4 separate regions of the Homo sapiens genome follow, and all the other regions are linked to region 4. The links are contacts of gene promoters, found by promoter capture Hi-C in blood cells and fetal thymus (Javierre and others, 2016). All regions are on one chromosome and are shown on one strand. The core of a region is centred on a gene start or on the middle of the fragment in contact, and the rest is flanking DNA. Distances in the headings are between cores, read along the strand shown.

Region 1 (2,700 bases), core at 192-2,691, 280 kb before region 4:
TTTTCTCTCTGCCTGAACGTTCCCCAAGATCTTCGTGTGGCTATCCCTCATCACTCAGGTCTCAGCGCAGGTGTCAATTCCTTGGAGTTAGTCTTTCCTAACTACCTGGTTAAAGCGGAACCCCCTCCTCCTACTCACTCTCTATGCTACTGCCCATCCTTTACTTTTAAAGCAAGTATTCACTATTATTATTTTTCCACGTTGGGTTTGTCATTCTGCTCTGCTAGAACGTAAGCAAAGCTCACCTCAAAATCCCCAGCAGCTAGAATGACACCTACCCAAAGGAGGCACTCAGTAACAGTAAACCGAATAATGAATGAGTCCTCATTACCTTTAAGGTAAATGGTTTTTAACCACTTTAATCATTATTTTACAGATGCAAAAAAACTCGGGCCTAAAAAAAGTTAAGTAATTTGCCTAGGTCTTACTGCTAATGAGGTGGCAGAACCAATACTGACCCCAGACAATGTAATTCAAGAGCACCAGCAAGGAGCAACGGTGTTGAAGTGGAGGTAGGAGTCAGATCACAATAGGCCTTGAAAGCTTTAGTCTGCACTGAGGAAGCAGTATGGAGAATGGACTGGAAGGAAATTAAACTAGAGGCAGGGAGACCAGCTACAAGTTTCTTGCAATGATTCAGCCTACAAAAATAATAAGGCTGGAGTGTCACAAGCAGTGAAGATGGTGTGGAAGGGATGGATATTTGAAACATAAAACAGAATTGTACTTTACATAGGGACAAAGTTCTGATGCTATGCCTTTAGAAGACAGATTTCTGACTTAGGGGATGGGGTGGCTGGCTGTATTAACTGAGGTAGGGAATCCAAGTGTGGGGGCAGAGCTGACTAGCTGAACTTTTTACATGCTGAGTTTGACATCCCTGGGGTTATCCAGTAGGCAGGCAGTGAAGTAGTTCTGATGATCAGAAGAAATGTCTACTCTAGATATACAGATTTCTGAGTCAACAGTTTTCAGGGATGCTGTGGACATCAAGATCATCATAAAATCACCCACAGCTCCAACAAGAGGAGGACTCTGGGAGCCTCTTGAGCACTAACATTTAAGGGAGGGGAGAGGGTGGCCAGAAAGGCAGAAAAGCTTAATGTCTCAAAGCTAAGGAAACAGAGTGCTTCCAACAGGAAGGTGTGGTTAATTTCTCTCATGCATCTTGTGAACATTAAATGAGACAATGCATAAAAAATATTGGCGCATATTATAAATGCTCTTATCCATGGACTCAAAAATTCTAGGGTTCACTGGAGATAGATCTCCTGGTTAAGATGAATAAATTATAATTATTACTTATATATCAGTCTGTTATGTGTGTGGTTAGAGAAACCTAGTTCATTAGGGCAGGATCACATGTAGGCGAATTGGCAAAATCAATTTCTGAAACTGTAACGCAGGTGAGAGGATCTGAAGAGTTGCGTCCCACAGCTTCCACTGTGAAATCCACTATCAGGTAGCCATATTGTTCATTTCAATTTTGTGCTTTTACCAGTCCCTGTACTGCATCCATTTAACGTCTTTTAGATCAGAGATCCAGGCAAACTAAGGCCTTCCACCTTTATTTGGTACAGCCCAAACTAAGAATAGTTTTTACATTTGTAAATGCTTGAAAAAAAATCAAAAGAATATTTTCTGACATGTGAAAATTATATAATTTCAGTGTCTATACTTTTATCAGAATACAATTACTAATTTACATATGGTCTACAGCTGCTTTGGTGCTACAACGGCAGAGGTGAGTGGTTATGACAGAGACTGTGGATCACAAAGCTTAAAACATTGACTATGTGGCTCTCTCTACAGAAATCTGTTGACCCCCGTTTTAGATTATAATTTTTTTTTTTTTTGAGACGGAGTCTCACTCTGTCCCAGGCTAGAGTGCAGTGGTGCAACCTCAGCTCACTGCAACCTCAGCCTCTTAGGTTGAAGCGATTCTCCTGCCTCAGCCTTCCCAGTAGTTGGGATTACAGGCTTGCGCCACCACACCTGGCTGATTTTTGTATTTTTAGTAGAGACAGGGTTTCACCATGTTGGCCAGGCTGGTCTTGAACTCCTGACCTCGTGATCCTCCTGCCTCGGCCTCCCAAAGTGCTGGGATTACTGGTGTGAGCCACCACGCCCGGCCTATAAATTGTTTTTGTTTTTTTGAGATGGAGTTTCACTTTTGTTGCTCAAGCTGGAGTACAATGGCGTGGTCTTGGCTCACTGCAACCTCCACCTCCCGGGTTCAAGCGATTCTCCTGCCTCAGCCTCCTGAGTAGCTGGGATTACAGGCATGCGCCACCACGCCTGGCTAATTTTTTGCATTTTTAGTAGAAATGGGGTTTCTCCATGCCAGCCAGGTTGGTTTCTAATTCCTGACCTCAGGTGATCTGCCTGCCTCGGCCTCCCAAAGTGCTGGGATTACAGGTGTAAGCCACCATGCCCAGTCAAAATTGTTTTTTAATTTTTTTTTAAAGACACAGGATCTCGCTCTGTTGCCCAAGCTGCAGTGCAGTGGTGCAATCATAGCTCACTGCAGCCTCGATCTCCTGGGTGTCCTGGGGTCAAGCCTCAAGTGATCCTCCTGAGTAGCTAGGACCATAAGCACGTGCTACCACACCTGGCTAATTTAAAAAAATTTTTTGTAGGCCAGGCATGGTGGCTCATGACTATAATCCCACCATTTTAGGAGGCCGAGTTGGAGGACTG
Region 2 (2,700 bases), core at 179-2,678, 300 kb before region 4:
TGTCTAGTCTGGGTGACACAGCAAGACCCTGTCTCAAAAAAAAAAAAAAAAAAAAAAAAGTTAACGAACTTAGGTACCTACTTAGGAGAACCAAAAATATATGGCCACACAAAAATTTGTACATGGCTGTTCATAGCAGCATTATTCATAATAGCCAAAAAGTAGAAACAACCCAAATGTTCATCAACTTACCAATGAACAAAAATGGCATATCCTTACACTGGAAGAGTACTGTCAGAAAAAGTAATGAAATACTGATAATATAAACATGGTACAACATAGATGACTCTTAAAAACACTATACCAAGTTAAAGGAGCCAAACCCAAAGGTCACATATTGCCTGATTCCATTTACATGAGATGTCCAGAATGGGCAAATCCATAGAGACAGTTTATTAGTATTTCCCTGGGGCTGGGAGCAGAGGGGTTGGGACTAGGGAAATGACTGCTAATGGTACAGAGTTCTTTCTGGGGTAAGGAAGATGTTCTGAAAGTAGATGGAGATGGTTGCACAACTTTGTGAATACGCTAAAAACCACTGAATTGTTCAATTTAAATGGGTGAATACTATGACATGTGAATTATATCTCCATTTTTTTAAAAAAAGTTAATGAAAAGCAACTTTCTTCTTATTTCATTTTTAGGGACAGGCAGGGGAGCCCAGCGGCATGCTGGATATGAATGTATCTTCAGCCTTCAAGTTACCATTGGCCAGAGGGAAGAGTGGCCCCAAACTCTGAAGAGCGCTGGCAAGGCTCCCCATCTTCCTCTCCCTAGCCTCCACAGGAACATCACAGTATGGCTTGGCATTTTTTTTTTTTTTTTGAGACGGAGTCTCACTCTGTCACCCAGGCTGGAGTGCAGTGGTGTGATCTCAGCTCACTGCAAGCTCTGCCTCCCGGGTTCATGCCATTCTCCTGCCTCAGCCTCCCGAGTAACTGGGACTACAGGCGCCCGCCACCACGCCCAGCTAATTTTTTGTATTTTTAGTAGAGACGGGGTTTCACTGTGTTAGCCAGGATGGTCTCAATCTCCTGACCTTGTGATCTGCCCGCCTCAGCCTCCCAAAGTGCTGGGATGACAGGCGTGAGCCACGCGCCCAGCCTGGCTTGGCATCTTTAGGGCAGATCTCAGTATGCCTTGCATTCCAATTCATCTCCAGAATCCTACACTTCCTCCAAGGTCAGTCCTCATGCGAGTCTCCAACCTCATCCCCACTTCATTTTCCTCATTGTACTTACCATCTTTTATTCGTATCCCACCAAATTTTGGCTTTGTTAGCTATACTGCAAATAGTAGATGCTCAATAAACTACTAGTGAATGAATGAACTTGGAAAAAAAAGCTTACACAGAAATCTGTACTGGATGTTATTTAAAAGATGAAATTTCATGGTTCAAATGTATTTTTCTCCCATAAAAATATTTTCTCTTCCATTTAAATATATACCTAATCTTTGAGAAATCTTGCACAAATGGCATTTTATTAAAGAAAATCTAATTTACAAAGCTTTGTAAATTTTAAGAAAAACATTCATAGATCATAAACAAAAATTTCAATATGCAATATTCAAATTTACAAGAAAATAAGCACAAACTTTTAGACAGTGCAGTTATTGCTGCACTCCTTTAATTCCTTATCCAGAGCCCAAAAAATGTAGACAAACCCTAAAAATGTAGCAGAAGCATTTCCGCACACTGGTGTCCAGAATCTAGTTTGTGCAGAAATGTTTCCACTAGATTTATAGAGTACTCTTCAGAAGAAAGAGGCGAGGGCTCGTCATTTGGTCACCCTTTGGACATTTTGCAACTCTTCAATGGGTTTCCATTGTTGGTTGATTGTTATAAGCTGAAGAGAAAAAAGGAAAAAAAAAAAACCTTTTGTTAAAAATTTGACTTTCATTTGCATGTCCCTCTTTCGGATTTGTCCACACTCCCCTTTAGAAAAAGCATCACCATTGTGTTTGTACCTACCTCTTTCCATATCTAAAACATGCACAAAATAGTAATGTGAGCTGGTTTCTATCAGTCCATCTTTTTACAAAGCCCTTGGGCTCCTAAGTGTTATGAGATCAGAGGGAAAGATCAAACACATGTGCCCTACTTTCACTTAGCAGTATCCAGATTTTTTTTTAAGACAGTCTTGCTGTGTTGCCCAGGCTGGAGTGCAGTGGCACAACTGCAACTCACTGCAGCCTCCGCCTCCCATGTTCAAGCAATTTTCGTGCCTCAGCCTCTCCAGTAGCTGGGTTTACAGGTGCGTTCTACTACACCCAGCTAATTTTTGTATTTTTAGTAAAGATGGAATTTCACCATGTTGGCCAAGCTGGTCTCGAACTCCTGACTTCAAGTGATCCACCCGCCTCGGCCTCCCAAAGTGTTGGCATTACAGGTGTGAGACACCGTGCCTGGCCGGTATCCAGATTTTTAAGTTTGCCAGGTATTATGTGAGCCATAGTTCCAAAAGTGTATATGCTTCTCATGAGTGGATGGACAATGCTCCTGGCATAGAGTAGGCTCTTAAAATTTCCTCATTTTAATTACTCGATGAAGGCACAATTGATCTAAGTTACACAATAAGGGTAAGGTACTAAATCTATTTTGCTCACAAAGGTGCTAAGGTTTGGGCAAAATATAAATCATTTGTTTTTAATTTAACAATACCTTTTGAGGTACAGTAGGGTCCACAGTTTCCCAAGGTT
Region 3 (2,700 bases), core at 175-2,674, 340 kb before region 4:
TATCAGGGGGTTTATGCCAGGTCATTTCATATATATAGCCTCCCAATGGGGAAGAACTGACCCTGAGTTTGAATTTAGATTGAGTCAGTGTGACCTTAGATAAATTATTTGACCTCTTCAGGCTCAGTTTTTTCGTTGGTAAAGTGGGTGTAACTGAAATGCAGGTTGGTTGCTCGTCGCATGTACAGTCCAACAAGAGCAAGGCCAGATATTTAAAAAGTGAATTTATTGCAAAGCTGGTGTGAACTCTGAAAATCTGAGACAGGTCTGAGTTAATTTAGAAAGTTTATTTCGCCAGAGTTGAGGATGTGCACCGGTGACACAGCCTCAGGAAGTCCTGACGACATGTGCCCAAGGTGGTCAGAGCAAAGTTTTCCCTTTTATACGTGCTAGGGAGACATGCGACGTCAGTCAACATATGCAAGATGAACACTGGTTCGGTCTGGAAAGGTGGGAAGACTCAAAGCGGGGAGGGGGCTTACAGGTCATAGGTAGATAAGAGACAAACAGCATTCTTTTGAGTTTCTGATTAGCCTCTCCAAAGGAAGCAATCAGATATGCACTTATTTCAGTGAACAAAGGTCCCTAAGCAGTTCCCAGCTTGACTTTTTCCTTTAGCTTCATGATTTCAGGGCCCCAAGATTTATTTTCCTTTCACACTAGCTTGGGGAGGGGCACAAAGTGTCCTGCCTTCAAATGTGCTACTTCCCCTCTGGAGCAGAAAGGAGACACTTTGATAAAGTAAGAGGGGAATGAATAAGGGCAGGGGGTCCCACTGCTAGTTTGGTGCCTTATTTACCATCCGGTTGAGTTGGCACCTTCCTGGGCAGAAGTTGTAAAAGTGGCCAAGTGGGAAAAGGGTGTGATTTTGCTGTGCCCTCCTTGTGGATGAATGTCCCAAGGCAACCCTCTGGAGGTGAAAGTTCCGTGGTGGGCATGACTTGGTCTGCAAATCTGCCAACTCTCAAGAGAGATCTGTCTTGGAGCACACAGAAGAACTTGTCTGCAGGGAGTGTCTGGTGAGGGGGAGGTGAAAGGTTGTATTTGCATTTCTGAAGGGCTAAGTAGAAAATAGGGAACAGTGGGAAAGGGGAGAGAAGACAACTCATTTCGGGGCACTCAGTTACATGGGGACTCATAACATTAGCTGACTTCATAGGACTGTTGTGAGAATTAAATGAAATAATGCATGCAAAATGCCTGGCATATGTTAGTATTCAATAAATGGTGGCTATGGTTGTCATTATTCCTATTTAGGGTTCCTGAGCTTCCCTAGCCTCACTAGAAGCTTCCCTGGCCTCACCAGCTTTCCAAGCACCCTACTAACAGGTTCAAAACCACGAACTTAAATATACCAGTAGGACGCAGGGTCTGCTTCACAAACCATCACTCATAATCATCCCAGCTCCGAACATGTCATCAGCGCAGGAGTGACATCCTATCACAGCCCCTTCCCTCATCCTTCCACCAGAAGCCTATGGTTGGAGCTGCTTCTGCAGAATTAGGAGCAGAACCTGATGAGTCATGAGCAGAAGGACCTAAAAATTCTTAGGAAGCTTCTTGGTTCAATGCATCCACACCCACCCAATCATGGCCTAAAAATAGTTTTTCTCTAGGGAGAGACCTAACGAGAGATGTGTGTATGTCGTGTCACAGTGACAGAATGAGAGCTCGGATTGCTAGGGGTTTCTCAGGAGCTGAATCTTCCCCAACTGTTCCCCCACATCCCCAGGACAGGCACAGCTGTACTAGCACAGTACGTCCTCCTCCCCCACTTCCTTCACAATAAGCACCCCACACACACCTGAAACACCAGGTTCACCAACAACTACACCCCATCCTCCAAACTCACCTCCCTCATCCCTGTACCTGCTTCTCATTTTACAGGTTATCTCAGTAGGAGTGGGAAAGCCTCGATCCTTCACCAAACCCCACACCTCTCCTGGGGACATCTCAATGCCTTAACAGAAACCACTCCACTTTATAACTTTGCTTTGGATTCATCCTCCGATTTCTCAGCAGACTTCAATGTTGAACACACCCATGGCCCAACCAAACTGAGTCCATTAGACTACAAGAACCTTGAGGACAGGGCCCATGTCCATCTTGCCCCATCCCATCCTTAGTGACCACCACAATGCAGGGCACAAAGTGAACCTCAATAAATCTTTGCTCAGTGAATGATGAGCAAATAAATTCAGATTTTACAGAAGGAGGGGAAGTCTTTCCCTGTTACAGAATCACTGGATTAAAGAATATACTTCGGAACTGTGCTGTCCAATATGGTAATCACTAGCCACATTTGGCCATTTAATGTTAGTTAGAATTAATCAAAATTAAATTCTACTATATGATCTAGCCATTCCGTTCTTTGGTATTTACCCATGAAAAATTAAAGCATATGTCCAAAGACTCATATAATGATGTTCATAGCAGCTTTAGTCACAATGGCTAAAAACTGGGGAAAATATATTTATCCACAGATGAATGGATAAACAAATCATAGCATATCCACACAATGGAATACTGCTGGGCGATAAGAAGGAATTAATTATTGATAAACACAATGACATGGATGAATCTCAAAAGAATTATGCTGAGCAAAAGGGACAGACCAAAAAGAGTAAATACTGTAGGATTCCACTTATATGGAATTCTTAAAAACGCTCAGCATCGTAAGATGGGGCAAAAGTAAAATTC
Region 4 (2,729 bases), core at 145-2,644:
TGCTCTCTCTCTCTCCACCCAGAGTCAACAGGGAAACAGAGGCAGCAGAGGACTCAGGCTGGGACTCCTGAGTGCGAGTAAGGAGTACCTAAAGCCGGCGAAGACCTCCTGAAGGCAACCTGGAGATTGGGGTTAGGATAGAGGAAGAAAGGAGCTCAGGGAAAGCCTCATCCCCAGCCAAACATCAGGGTTCCTGGATGGGTTGTCTAGAGGAGAGAACCCAGGGAGTGACCTCATCCCTACTCCATCTCCTATTAAATGAAAAAACCTAGGCCCTGCCATAACTGGAAAGCTCAGTATCACCTGCTGCATTTCACAGAGTCTGTCCAGGTGCTGGCCTTTAATAGTGCATGAAGAGCTGGGCTCTGGATGGTTGAAGCTGTAAAGCTGGATATACGGAAGTAGCCACAGCGGTCCTTCCCTGATCCCAAGATGTCATTCCCCTCCCCCGCCACCACCATGTCTTCAGGATCCTGGGCCTCAACGCTAATGTACCACTCAGCCCCTAAGGGCATGAAATGGGCTTTCAGACCAGGCTGTGTGGGGATGACCTGAAGAGGAAGGTGGACATGCTTAATAACCACTCCTTGTGGGTGGGTTGCCCTTAATGATTTACACAACGATGGGGCAGTAACTTCTCAACAACCTTGACAGGAAGGTTGCCCAGGACAGGGCAGTGAAGCCCCAGGCAGAGCCAGCGGCAGAACCAGAGAGAGAACACAGGCCTGCCTGTTCTTGCCCCACATGGCTGCTTTTCCAGCCTGAAGCCCTAGAGTGGTGACCCTGGTGGCCCTGAGGTGGGAGGAAGATGGGTCAAGGCCATCTTGGTCCTAAGGGAGGGCTGAGGGGGAAAGCTTGGATCCTAAAGCCCAAAGCTCCCTCCCTGGTATGTTGTGCTGGTGCCAGGAGAAGAACCCGCAGGCCCAGGCAAACTAGGCCACCCAACATTCCCAGGTCCCAAAGAACCCAGTCTCTCAAAACCTTGATTGGGCAGAGGACAGGCCCTAACAGGACCGGTTTTAGCCTTAGGATAAGATCGGAGGCGCAGGGGGCTAGCATTCCCCTTTCTTCCATAACGTGGAGGAGCTGCGGCTCCCCCGCCACCCTGCCCTTGGAGCTCCCTCCCCCGGAGCGCCCAGGCCCGCGGGCCGGGAAAAGCCCTCCCAAATCTGACCTGCGGCCACGGCGTCACCAGAGCCCGGGACTGCAACTTGTCTCCGGCCTGGCTGCCAGCTGGGCCCGCGGAGCCCTCTCTCGTCCGGTGCCTCTGCAGCTCTGCGCCGGGACGGGCGGGGCTGGGGGTGAGGAGGGGAAGGCACGGCCCGGCTCGGCTCAGCCACGGGGCGGGGCGCAGTGGGGCGGGATGGAGTCTGGCGCCTGGGGAGGCGCGGAGGTGCTTCCAGCGGACGGCAGCGCGCGAGGTGAGACGGCGAGGGCTCCCGGGGCGCAGGTAGAGATGTTCCGTCGGTGCCGAAGGCCCGGCTAGTGCGGTTGTGTGGACGGCGAAAAAAGCAAGTCCGCCTTCACAAGTCCCATGGGGCTGGGGAGAGGGTGGGAGGCGGAGAGGGTATGGGGAGGGGAGACTCTCCTCAGATCCTCTCGACACCGTCGGGTCTGGGCTCCAAGTCCAAGGCCATCGATCACCTGCCACCCACAGACCAGGCCAGGCGTCAAAGCAAGTCACCCATCCGACCTAAACCCCTCTAAGACCCCGGAGTCACGTCTCCCTCCGGGGATCCTCGTGAGGTCTTGGGGGTCCCACCGCCCTGCGAGCCGCGCCCGCGCCCCGCCAGACCCGGAACTGCGTCGCTAGGTTTGCGCTGGAGCTGCTGGGATTGCTGGGCATGGGTGGGGGGGCGCAGAGGAGGAGGGGGGATTGGAGGGACCTCTGCGGAGCTGGCAGACCCCGGTACTACTGTCCTGGCGCACCCAGCCCTTCTCTGTACCAGGCCGGGAGAGGGAGGCGGCGCCGCAGAGCCTCGGGTGCAGTCTGAGAAGTTTGGGAGTGACTTGAAGAGTGACTGGAAGCACCCCAGACCCGGTTTGTCCGGTCACAGCCGGGTCCTTACGTGAGTTAGGAGAGGAGTGGGGGTCGGACGGGAGCCCCACTGAGAGTAAGGGCGCGCGTTTGTTCACAGAACGTCGGGACCTGGTTCCCTCTTTAATCACACCCCCGGGGGCGCTTCGTGTGAGGTTCCACGGGGGAAGGCGAGAGGCGCAGGCTGCCACACACGCACTGTTTGGAAGAGGGGAAGGTAGGGAATAGTGGTCCGGGTGTGGGTGGTGGGGGATGCGGCTGCTTAGATCTGTGCGGTCCAGGTGATTTTGGAGGGGGTCTTGAAGTGCTTGCTCCCGCCCTGGCACCTAGGGCTGCACTTCCTGCTTTCATCCAGACCAAGTTCGGATCAAGTGGGAGTTCTTCAAAGAGAGAGTTTGGTAAGAAACTGGGGAGGCAAGGAAAACCTCTTAAGGCCATAAATGCCACAAGGTTTATAGACATCGAATCGCCATCCCAGTTTAACTCGAGTCTGGATACTTTGGCTTGCATGATTCTGCACCCTTGAATTCCTTATCCACATCAGCCCTTACTGGGGAATCCTGCCTCCAATCCACTTTTCAGATCTTGTTCAATTTCTCCACTTAACTCCTATTTTTGTGCAACAACACACATATACATTCATACACAGATACACACGTACACACAGACCCCTTCCTTGAAGAGGAAAGTC

The links. The method cuts DNA at HindIII sites, captures the fragments that hold promoters and counts their contacts. A CHiCAGO score of 5 or more calls a contact.
Region 1: a fragment that was not itself captured here is called in contact with the fragment with the promoter of DUOXA1 in region 4 in 10 of 17 cell types (endothelial precursors, naive B cells, erythroblasts and 7 more); the score reaches 7.8 in endothelial precursors.
Region 2: a fragment that was not itself captured here is called in contact with the fragment with the promoter of DUOXA1 in region 4 in 1 of 17 cell types (total B cells); the score reaches 5.4 in total B cells.
Region 3: a fragment that was not itself captured here is called in contact with the fragment with the promoter of DUOXA1 in region 4 in 1 of 17 cell types (erythroblasts); the score reaches 5.1 in erythroblasts.

Annotation. Positions count from the first base shown.
Region 1 is chr15:45,411,555-45,414,254 of GRCh38, reverse strand. The region is part of intron 3 of AFG2B (AAA ATPase AFG2B); the gene reads right to left. Among named protein-coding and RNA genes, the nearest start is that of AFG2B, 11 kb to the right of the region's middle. The HindIII fragment of the contact is 681 bases long and covers 1,101-1,781 here.
Region 2 is chr15:45,432,095-45,434,794 of GRCh38, reverse strand. COXFA4L3 (cytochrome c oxidase associated subunit FA4L3) reads right to left here. Exons shown (of 5, transcript NM_197955.3): 4 at 2,663-2,700; 5 at 1,455-1,847. The coding sequence ends at 1,779. It overlaps MIR147B (microRNA 147b), which reads right to left and starts at 1,745; the gene lies at 1,666-1,745. LOC107987223 (a long non-coding RNA gene) reads left to right here. Exons shown (of 2, transcript XR_001751510.2): 2 at 645-1,326. The HindIII fragment of the contact is 164 bases long and covers 1,347-1,510 here.
Region 3 is chr15:45,467,437-45,470,136 of GRCh38, reverse strand. The region is part of intron 1 of SLC30A4-AS1 (SLC30A4 antisense RNA 1); the gene reads right to left. Among named protein-coding and RNA genes, the nearest start is that of SLC30A4-AS1, 20 kb to the right of the region's middle. The HindIII fragment of the contact is 268 bases long and covers 1,291-1,558 here.
Region 4 is chr15:45,128,544-45,131,272 of GRCh38, reverse strand. DUOXA1 (dual oxidase maturation factor 1) reads left to right here and starts at 1,394. Exons shown (of 9, transcript NM_001276266.2): 1 at 1,394-1,421; 2 at 1,658-1,813; 3 at 2,139-2,255. DUOX1 (dual oxidase 1) reads right to left here and starts at 1,279. Exons shown (of 34, transcript NM_175940.3): 1 at 1,175-1,279. The HindIII fragment of the contact is 6,225 bases long and covers 857-2,729 here.